Regions from separate parts of the Homo sapiens genome. Here region 2 is linked to region 1. The links are contacts of gene promoters, found by promoter capture Hi-C in blood cells and fetal thymus (Javierre and others, 2016). All regions are on one chromosome and are shown on one strand. Each heading gives the region's core, a stretch centred on a gene start or on the middle of the fragment in contact. The rest is flanking DNA. Distances are from core to core; before and after follow the strand shown.

The links. The method cuts DNA at HindIII sites, captures the fragments that hold promoters and counts their contacts. A CHiCAGO score of 5 or more calls a contact.
Region 2: a contact is called between a fragment that was not itself captured here and the fragment with the promoter of OR10AG1 in region 1, in 1 of 17 cell types (erythroblasts). The highest score is 5.3, in erythroblasts.

Annotation. Positions count from the first base shown.
Region 1 is chr11:55,967,698-55,972,687 of GRCh38, forward strand. OR10AG1 (olfactory receptor family 10 subfamily AG member 1) reads right to left here and starts at 2,248. Exons shown (of 2, transcript NM_001005491.2): 1 at 2,195-2,248; 2 at 1-810. The coding sequence starts at 2,210. The HindIII fragment of the contact is 3,009 bases long and covers 234-3,242 here.
Region 2 is chr11:56,707,998-56,712,786 of GRCh38, forward strand. No RefSeq gene overlaps it. Among named protein-coding and RNA genes, the nearest start is that of OR9G1, 11 kb to the left of the region's middle. The HindIII fragment of the contact is 3,926 bases long and covers 1-3,747 here.

The DNA of each region.
Region 1 (4,990 bases), core at 998-3,497:
GTGGTTTGGGCTGTAAATAAGTGATAGTACCTGCTCCAAAGAATAAGATTACAACTATTAGGTGAGATGAGCAGGTGGAGAAGGCTTTAGCCTTTCCTCTGGCTGATGACAATTTCAAAATGTTGGAGATAATTTTGCCATAAGAGACAACAATCAACAGAAATGGCACCGTGATAAACACCACCGCTACTACATGGACTGTTATCTCATTCACAAATATGTTTCCACAAGCAAGCTTGAGTATTGGCGGGATGTCACAAAAGAAATGATTAATTGTGTTAGTTCCGCAAAAGGGCAAAAGGAAAATTTGGCATGTTTCCCCAATTACTACAGGAATTGTGATGGTCCAGGAAGCTATTATCAGCTGAATGCAGACTTTGTGGTTCATCACTAGAGGATACTGCAAAGGCTTACAAATAGCCACGTAGCGGTCATAGGCCATCACTGTCAGAAGGAGACACTCCGTGCCTCCAAGCATAAGAAAAAAACACATTTGTGTAGCACAAGCAAACAAAGAAATATTTCCTTTCTGAGTCCAAATGTCCATGAGCATTCTTGGGATAATGATTGTTACATAACAGATTTCCAAAAGGGAAAAATTGCTAAGAAAAAAATACATGGGAGTCTGGAGAGCGGGGTGAATTTTTATTAGTAGTATTATGATGCCATTGCACATCAGGATCATCAAATACATAAGTAAAAATATACTAAAAAGCATCCAGTGGAGATTGGGAATATCAGAAAACCCCAAAAGAACAAATTCCATTATTGTAGTCACATTTGATTTTTCTCTTTTAGTTTGCTCTCCATCTGCAGATATAGCAAATTCAAGACAGTTAATTCATCCATATTTTGAACAATATTTTCCTCTTGGGTTAACTAAATGAGATACAGGAATATACTTACTTAAGCTCTTAAGTCATTTTCACCAGTACTTGCTCTGTTTCTAGATAATAAACTGATTTAGCATTAAAATCAATTTAAGAAATGAAACCTCAATATATTTTATTATACTGGGATATAATGCAACCAGAGGCATTGAGAAGCATGCATTGTTGTTTAGAAAATATTATGGAGGAATAACATCTTATTATTTCACACTTAAGAGTAGAGTTATAGTGTAGGCTTTTACTATTTCATCTGAGAATATCATTTTTCTTTGTATTGGTAGTCATATTCCAGTTTTTTTAATTCAAAATGTTGCCCTTGAATATTACGATTAATTCATACTCAAAATGAATTTTAAACTTTTCCTTTTATGCACCAGTGAGAATCAATTATCTTAAACAATTTCTTGGTTACTGAGAGACTAAATACATGCATTATTGTTGCTCTACTTCATGTCTCTCTCCTATTATTTATGCTAAATATAAAAACACTAATACCAGTAGGCAGTTTATTGACTTCCCCTGTTATTGCCCTGAATACAGTGAATGCTAAATAGTAATTAAATTATAACTTAATCAAGATGTAGAAATTCATCACAATTTTTTTTACATTTCTTTTTTTTATCTAAGTGAATTTCTCCATTGTCATATAACCAAATACAGTTCCTTTCAACCAAATACAATTCCTTCTCTCTATTTTCCCTTCATCCTGTTGCCTTATTAAAGTAAAATTCTTTGATTAAACCCAGCTAACATTTACTCTGGCCATCTAAGTGGCCAGAGCATATAAATGGGACCAAAAAATTAAACAAAACAAAACAAAAACACACTGTCTTGCTTCACTTCATGTCAATGTCATCCAATATGAGGAAATCACTGCTTGTCAATTCCCATTACACTTGCTTAACGTTTGTTCTCCAACTTTCTAAACAAATTCTTTTTTTCTGTGTCTTCAAATCTGCTGCACCTATACCTATTTTAGCCCGGTCAGCCAATGCATTTGACTTAATACGTTGATAAATGAAAGTGATCAGACAAATACTATCTCATATTTATACATTTCTATTAGTACTAGTTTTCAAAATTGCCTTAAATGACTTTTCATCACTAATGCAATTTTACCATTATTGGACATCTAATTTTATTTAACTTTGTAGTGAAGAGATACATGATTTAAATGTTAAATAATTAATTTTCAGATAAAGGTCTCAAAATTTCATGCTTTTCTGTTTTATTAGTTGCATTTCTATCCACAAACTTGTAACTATTCTTAAATAAAATAGTCTGTCAACCCAATTATGGCTTACCTTTAGGGATTTGCATGAAGCTGTCTGTACAGACTTTTTAAGCTCTTCCTTTTCTCGGGAACTGTAATTTTGCAATACGCTTGCTTGTTTCAAACAGCAACAGCTCTTATATAGGAATAGTCAGACTCAACCTGGGATGTGTCTTCTCTTGAGTATCAGTTTAATTTCTAGAAGGCTGCTTCTGTTTGTCAATCATTCTGATTCATTTTTCAAAACTACTTTAAGTAAACTTATCCTCCTCTTCATCTCCTCATGAGGGGAGTTAATTAAATACCATTTAGTTGTCTAGTATTACTTTCAGGAAAAAGTTAAAAATTTTCCAACTGTGTATTTGAGGCCCCTAATACTTAGTGTGGATTTGTCTGCCTTACTTCTATTCCAATAATTTATCCAGATCCAAATTAACTAGACCTTTAAAAAATATATCATGTGTTTAATCACACGAACATGATATGCTTGATGTCTTCGACATATTGAACGGTGAGATTCTTTTTCAGATGTGGAACCCTCTGTTCCTAGGTTAACTTTTTTTGTGGATATTAAAACATGTTAATTCTGCTGAGAAAATCTATCTATACATTTATTTCATTCTGTGTTGTCTATAAGGCACCAGGGAAATGTATCCAGCTGATTGAAAATGTAATATACCACTCCAAGACGTCCCACTAGACGCAGTCAAGAGGAACATCGCCCACGAGGGACCAGGACATCAGGAAGATTGGTGCACTCCTAGCAAATCTTCAGAAGGAAAGGAATTCTGCATGGGGGTACCACACACAGGAAGCATTCCTGGCCCCCAGTGACTCCTGCAAAAGCATGAGTTGAATGGGCAAGGAGCAACCCTCTCTTTCCATGAGCCTCCGAATCCCAGCAGGAGAAAACCCCTGGACCACAAGTAACACTTGAACTGGCAGGGAGAGATGCTTAGACAAGTGGTAGGGGCAGAACTCCAGCCTGTGTGGAATCCAGAGGGTTTAGTGTGAAAGTGTCTGTAGTGGAGCATGGCCAGGGATGCCCATCCCCCCAGGCTTGACCTGCTCCCGTAGGAAGCTTTAGCCCTATGGGAACTATGGGACCTGAATTCTGCACGGCAGTCTCACCCACTACATGAGGCTATTCTAACTTCAGCACCACTCAGTTTGCTGGCCTCTCCTGGGTCCCAGCTTGGCCCCCAGCCAGGTACCTCCTGGGGGCCACATCATAGCTCCTGTGCTGGTGGACCCCCGGCTGACCAGCAGACTGATCCAGCAGAGTAGCCTGTGCAGACACAGGCCAGCCCACCAGCACCCTCCCTGCACTGCAGCCTCTCGGGCCACTTTGCCTGCACTCACTCACCCATAGCCACCCCCTATTTATGTCTCTCTCCTATTATTTATGCTAATTATAAAAACACTAATACCAGCATCCCTTTGCCAGTGAGTGTGTGTGCCAGAGGACATTGCCTTCCCTTCCCTGCCACTGTGAGTGTGCCCATACATCCTGTGTGCCACTGCTCCCGGAGTGAGTGCACCTTTGGCCCTGCTGCAGAGCCGTTGTCCTCGGAGCGTTTGTGGGCCCGTCCCTCCCTGAGCGGGTCTAATGGTCACTAACTAGTGATCATTAGAGAAATGCAAATCAAACTTTCCATCACTAACCAGTGATCATTAGAGAAATGCAAATCAAAACCACAATGAGATAGATACCATCTCACACCAGTCAAAATCACTATTATTAAAAAGTCAAAAAATAACAGATGCTGGTGAGGTTGCAGTGAAGAGGCAACACTTACAGTGTCTTGATGGGAGTGTAAATTAGTTCAACCATTGTGGAAAGCAGTGTGACGATTCCTGAAAGAGGTAAAAACAGAACTGCCATTCTACCCCATAATCACATTACTGGCTCTAGATCCAAAGGAATAGAAATCATTCCATTATAAAGATGCATGCACACATACATTCATTGCAGCACTATTCTCAATAGCATAGACATGGAATCAATCTATATGTCCATCAGTGGTAGACTAGATAAAGAAAATGTGGTACGTATACATCATGGAATCCTATGAAACCATTAAAAAAGAAGACTATGTCCTTTGCAGGAACATGGATGGAGCTGAGGGCCATTATCCTTAGCGAACTAACTCAAGAACAGAAAACCAAATACTGCATGCTCTCACTTAAAAGTGAGAGCTAAGTGATGGGAACACATGGACACATGGAGGGCCTACCTGAGGATGGAGAATGAAAGGAGGGAGAGGAGCAGAAAAAATAACTATTGGGTACTAGGCTTAATACCTGGGTGAGGGCCAGGCACTGTGGCTCAAGCCTGTAATCCCAGCACTTTGGGAGGCCGAGGAGGGCGGATGACCTGATGTCAGGAGTTCGAGACCAGCCTGACCAACATGGAGAAATCCCATCTCTACTAAAAATACAAAATTAGCCAGGTGTAGTGGTACATGCCTGTAATCTCAGCTGCTAGGGAGGGTGAGGCAGGAGAATCACTTGAACCTGGGAGGTGGAGGTTGCGGTGAGCCGAGATCGTGCCATTGCACTCCAGACTGGGCAACAAGAGTGAAACTCTGTCTCAAAAGAAAAACAAAAAATAATACCTGGGTGAAATCTGTACAACAAACCCCATGTGGAACAACCCTTCAAATGGACACCTGAACCTACAATAAAAAAAAAAAATTTAATGCAAGCCACTTCAAAAATAAACATTTTAAACTAGATTATTTAAAACAGAAGGAAAAGAAGAAACTTTTCAACATCCTTTCCCTATTGCAGCTACTTCCGGGTGTGTATGGTGATGTTTCTCAGG
Region 2 (4,789 bases), core at 535-3,034, 740 kb after region 1:
AAGCTAGGAGAGATTGGGGTCCTATCTTTAGCCTCCTTAAACCGAATAATGGTCAGCCAAGAATTTTTTATCCAGCAAAACTAAGTTTCATGAATGAAGGAGGAATAAAGTATTTCTCAAACAAAAAAAGGTTGAGGAGATTTGTCACTACCAGACTAGAAATGCTAAAAGGATTTCTAAATCTTGAAACAAAAGGTTGATATGCACCAGAATAGGACACCTTGAAAGCATAAAATTCACAGGTCCTTTAAAATAAGAACACAATGAAGAAAACAAAGTCTTAGGTAGCAACAAACATGATTACTGGAACAGTACCCCACATCTCAATATTAACACTGAATGTGAATACAGAATGGCATAATAAATTTTTAAAAATCACAAACCAAACATCTGCTGTCTTCAAGAGACACACCTAACATGTAAGGATTCTTGCAGGTAAAGGGGTGAAAAAGATATTCCATGCAAATGGAAACCAAAAGCAAGCAAGCAAGAATAGCTATTCCTGTATCAGATAAAACAGACTTTAAAGCAACAACACTAAAAAAAAAGATGAAGGAGGTCATTACATAACGATAAAAGGATCAATCCAAAAAGAAGATGTAACAATTATAAATATAAATGCATCTAACTCTGGAGCTCCTAAACTCATAAAACAATTATTACTAGGCCTAAGAAAAGAGATAGTGAGCAACAAAATAGTAGTGGGGAACTTCAGTACTCTGGTGACAATACTAGACATTATCTAGGCAGAAAGTCAACAAAGAAACACTGGGCTTTAAACTGAACTCCAAAAAAAAAAAAACAATGAACCTAACAGATACTTACATAACATTCTACCCAAGAGCTGAATATACATTCTTCTCATTAGCATATGGAATATTCTCCAAGGTAGACTATATGATAGGCCACAAGCAAGTCTTAACAAATGTAAAAATATCAGAATCATATCAAGTATCTTCTCAGATCACAAGAGAACAAAACTAGAAATCAATTCCAATAGGAATCCTCAAAACTACATAAACACATGGAAATTAAACAATCAGCTCCTGAATGATTTTTGGTTTAATAAAGGAATCAACATTGAAATTTTAAAATTCTTCAAAATTAATGATAACAGTGACGCAAATTATCAAAACCTCTGGGATGCAGCAAAAACAGTGCTAAGAGGAAAGTTTATAGTGCTAAATGCATATGTTACTCTGTCTGAAAGATCACAAATTGACAACCTAATGTTACATCTCAAGGAAGTAGAGAAACAAGAAGAAACCAAACCCAAAGCTAGCAGAAGAAAAGAAATAACAAAGATCAGAGCAGAACTAAATGAAATTCAGACTAAAAAAATGGTTTTTTGGAAAGACAAAAAATTGGTAGACCATTAGCTATTAACTAAGAAGAGAGAAGTTTCTCTTTTTTTTCCTTTTTTTAAAATTTATACTTTCAGTTCTAGGGTACATGTGCACAACGTGCATGTTTGATACATAGGTATAAATGTGCCATGTAGGTTTGCTGCACCCATCAACTCATCATTTACATTAGGTACTTCTCCTAATGCTATCCCTCCCCCAGCCCACCACTCCCTGACAGGTCCCAGTGTGTGATGTTCCCTGCCCAGTGTCCAAGTGATCTAATTGTTCAATTCCCACCTATGAGTGAGACATGTGGTGTTTGGTTTTCTGTCCTTGTGATAGTCTGCTGAGAATGATGGTTTCCAGCTTCATCCATTTACCGGCAAAGGACATGAACTGATCCTTTTCTGTGGCTGCATAGTATTCCATGGTGTATATGTGCCACATTTTCTTAATCCAGTCAATCATTGGTGGACATTTGGGTTGGTTCCAAGTCTTTGCTATTGTAGTGCCACAAAAAACATACGTGTGCATGTGTCTTTATAGTAGCATGATTTATAATCCTTTGGGTATATACCCAGTAATGGGATTGCTACATCAAATGGTAATTCTAGTTCTAGATCCTTGAGGAATCGCCACACTGTCTTCCACAATGGTTGAACTAATTTACACTCCCACCAACAGTGTAAAAGCATTCCTATTTCTCCACACCCTCTCCAGCATCTGTTGTTTCCTGACTTTTTAATGATTGCCATTCTAACTGGTGTGAGATGGTATCTCATTGTGGTTTTGATTTGCATTTCTCTGATGGCCAGTGATGATGGGCATTTTTCATGTGTCTGTTGGCTACATAGATGTCTTCTTTTGAGAAGCGTCTGTTCATATCCTGTGCCCACTTTTTGATAGGGTTGTTTGTTTTTTTCTTGTAAATTTGTTTGAGTTCTTTGTAGATTCTCTATATTCGCCCTTTGTCAGATGGGTAGATTGCTAAAATTTTCTCCCATTCTGTAGGTTGCCTTTTCACTCTGATGGTAGTTTCTTTTGCAGGGCAGAAGTTCTTTAGTTTGATTAGATCCCATTTGTCTATTTTGGCTTTTGTTCCCATTGCTTTTGGTGTTTTAGTCATGAAGTTCTTGCCCATGCCTATGTCCTGAATGGCATTGCCTAGGTTTTCTTCTAGGGTTTTATGGTTTTAGGTTTAACATTTAAGTGTTTAATCCACCTTGAATTAATTTTTGTATAAGGTGTAAGGAAGGGAGATTCAGTTTCAGCTTTCTACATATGGCTAGCCAGTTTTCCCAGCACCACTTATTAACTGGGGAATCCTTTCCCCATCTCTTGTTTTTGTCAGGTTTGTCAAATATCAGATGGTTGTAGATGTGTGGTGTTATTTCTGAGGCTTCTATTCTGTTCCATTGGTCTATATATCTGTTTTGGTACCAGTACCATGCTGTTTTTATTACTGTAGCCTTGTAGTGTAGTTTGAAGTCAGGTACCGTGGTGCCTCCAGCTTTGTTCTTTTGGCTTAGGATTGTCTTGGCAATACGGACTCTTTTTGGGTTCCATATGAACTTTCAAGTAGTTTTTTCCAATTCTGTGAAGAAAGGCATTGGTAGCTTGGTGGAGATAGCATTGAATCTATAAATTACTTTGGGCAGTATGGCCATTTTCATGATATTGTTTCTTCCTATCCATAAGCATGGAACATTTTCCCATTTGTTTGTGTCCTCTTGTATTTCATTGAGCAGTAGTTTGTTGCTCTCCTTGAAGAGACCCTTCACATCCCTTGTAAGCTGGATTCCTAGGTATTCTATTCTCTTTGAAGCAATTGTGAATGGGAGTTCACTCATGATTTGGCTCTCTTTCTGTTTGTTAATGGTGTATAGGAATACTTGTGATTTTTGCACATTGATTTTGTATCCTGAGACTTTGCTGAAGTTCTTTATCAGCTTAAGGAGACTTTGGGCTGAGATGATGGGGTTTTCTAAATATACAATCATGTCATCTGCAAACAGGGACAATTTGACTTCCTCATTTCTTAATTGAATGCCTTTATTTCTTTCTCTTGCCTGATTGCCCTGGCCAGAATTTCCAACACTATGTTGAATAGGAGTGGTGAGAGAGGGCATCCCTGTCTTGTGCCAGTTTTCAAAGAGAATGCTTCCAGTTTTTGTCATAAATAGCTCATTATTTTGAGATACATTCCATCAATACCTAGTTCATTGAGAGTTTTTAGCATGAAGGGCTGTTGAATTTTGTCAAAGGCCTTTTCTGCATCTATTGAGATAATCATGTGGTTTTTGTCATTGGTTCTGTTTATGTATGGATTACGTTTATTGATTTGCATATATTGAACCAGCCTTGCATCCCAGGCAGGAAGCCGACTTGACTGTGCTGGAGAAGCTTTTTGATGTGCTGCTGGATTCGGTTTGCCAGTATTTCATTGAGGATTTTCACATCAATGTTCATCAGGGATATTGGTCTAAAATTCTCTTTTTTTGTTGTGTATCTTCCAAGCTTTGGTATCAGGAGATATTGGCCTCATAAAATGAGTTAGGAAGGATTCCCTCTTTTTCTCTTGATTGGAATAGTTTCAGAAGGAATGGTACCAGTTCTTCTTTGCACCTCTGGTAGAATTTGGCTGTGCATGCATCTGGTCCTGGATTTTTTTTGGTTGGTAGGATATAAATTATTGCCTCAGTTTCAGATCCTGTTATTGGTCTATTCAGAGATTCAACTTCTTCCTGGTTTAGTCTTGGGATGGTGTATATGTCCAGAAATTTATCCATTTCATCTAGATTTTCTAGTTTATTTGCATAGAGGTGTTTATAGTATTCTCTGATGGTAGTTTGTATTTCTGTGGGATCGGTGGTGATATTCCCTTTATCATTTTTTATTGCATCTATTTGATTTTTCTCTATTTTCTTCTTTGTTAGTCTTGCTAGCAGTCTATCAATTTTGTTGATCTTTTCAAAAAACCAGCTCCTGGATTCATTGATTTTTTTGAAGGATTTTTTTGTGTCTCTATTTCCTTCAGTTCTGCTCTGATCTTAGTTATTTCTTGCCTTCTGCTAGCTTTTGAATATGTTTGCTCTTGCTTCTCTGGTTCTTTTAATTGTGATGTTAGGGTACCAATTTTAGATCTTTCCTGCTTTCTCTTATGGGCATTTAGTGGTATCAATTTCCCTCTACACACTGCTTTAAATGTGTCCCAGAGATTCTGGTACATTTTGTCTTTGTTCTCATTGGTTTCAAAGAACATCTTTATTTCTGCCTTCATTTCATTATTTACCCAGTAGTCCTTCAGGGCAGGTTTTTCAGTTTCCATGTAGTTGTACAGTTTTGAGTGAGTTTCTTAATCCTGAGTTCTAATTTGATTGCACTGTGGTCTGAGAGACTGTTTGTTGTGATTTCTGTTCATTTACATTTGCTGAGGAGTGCTT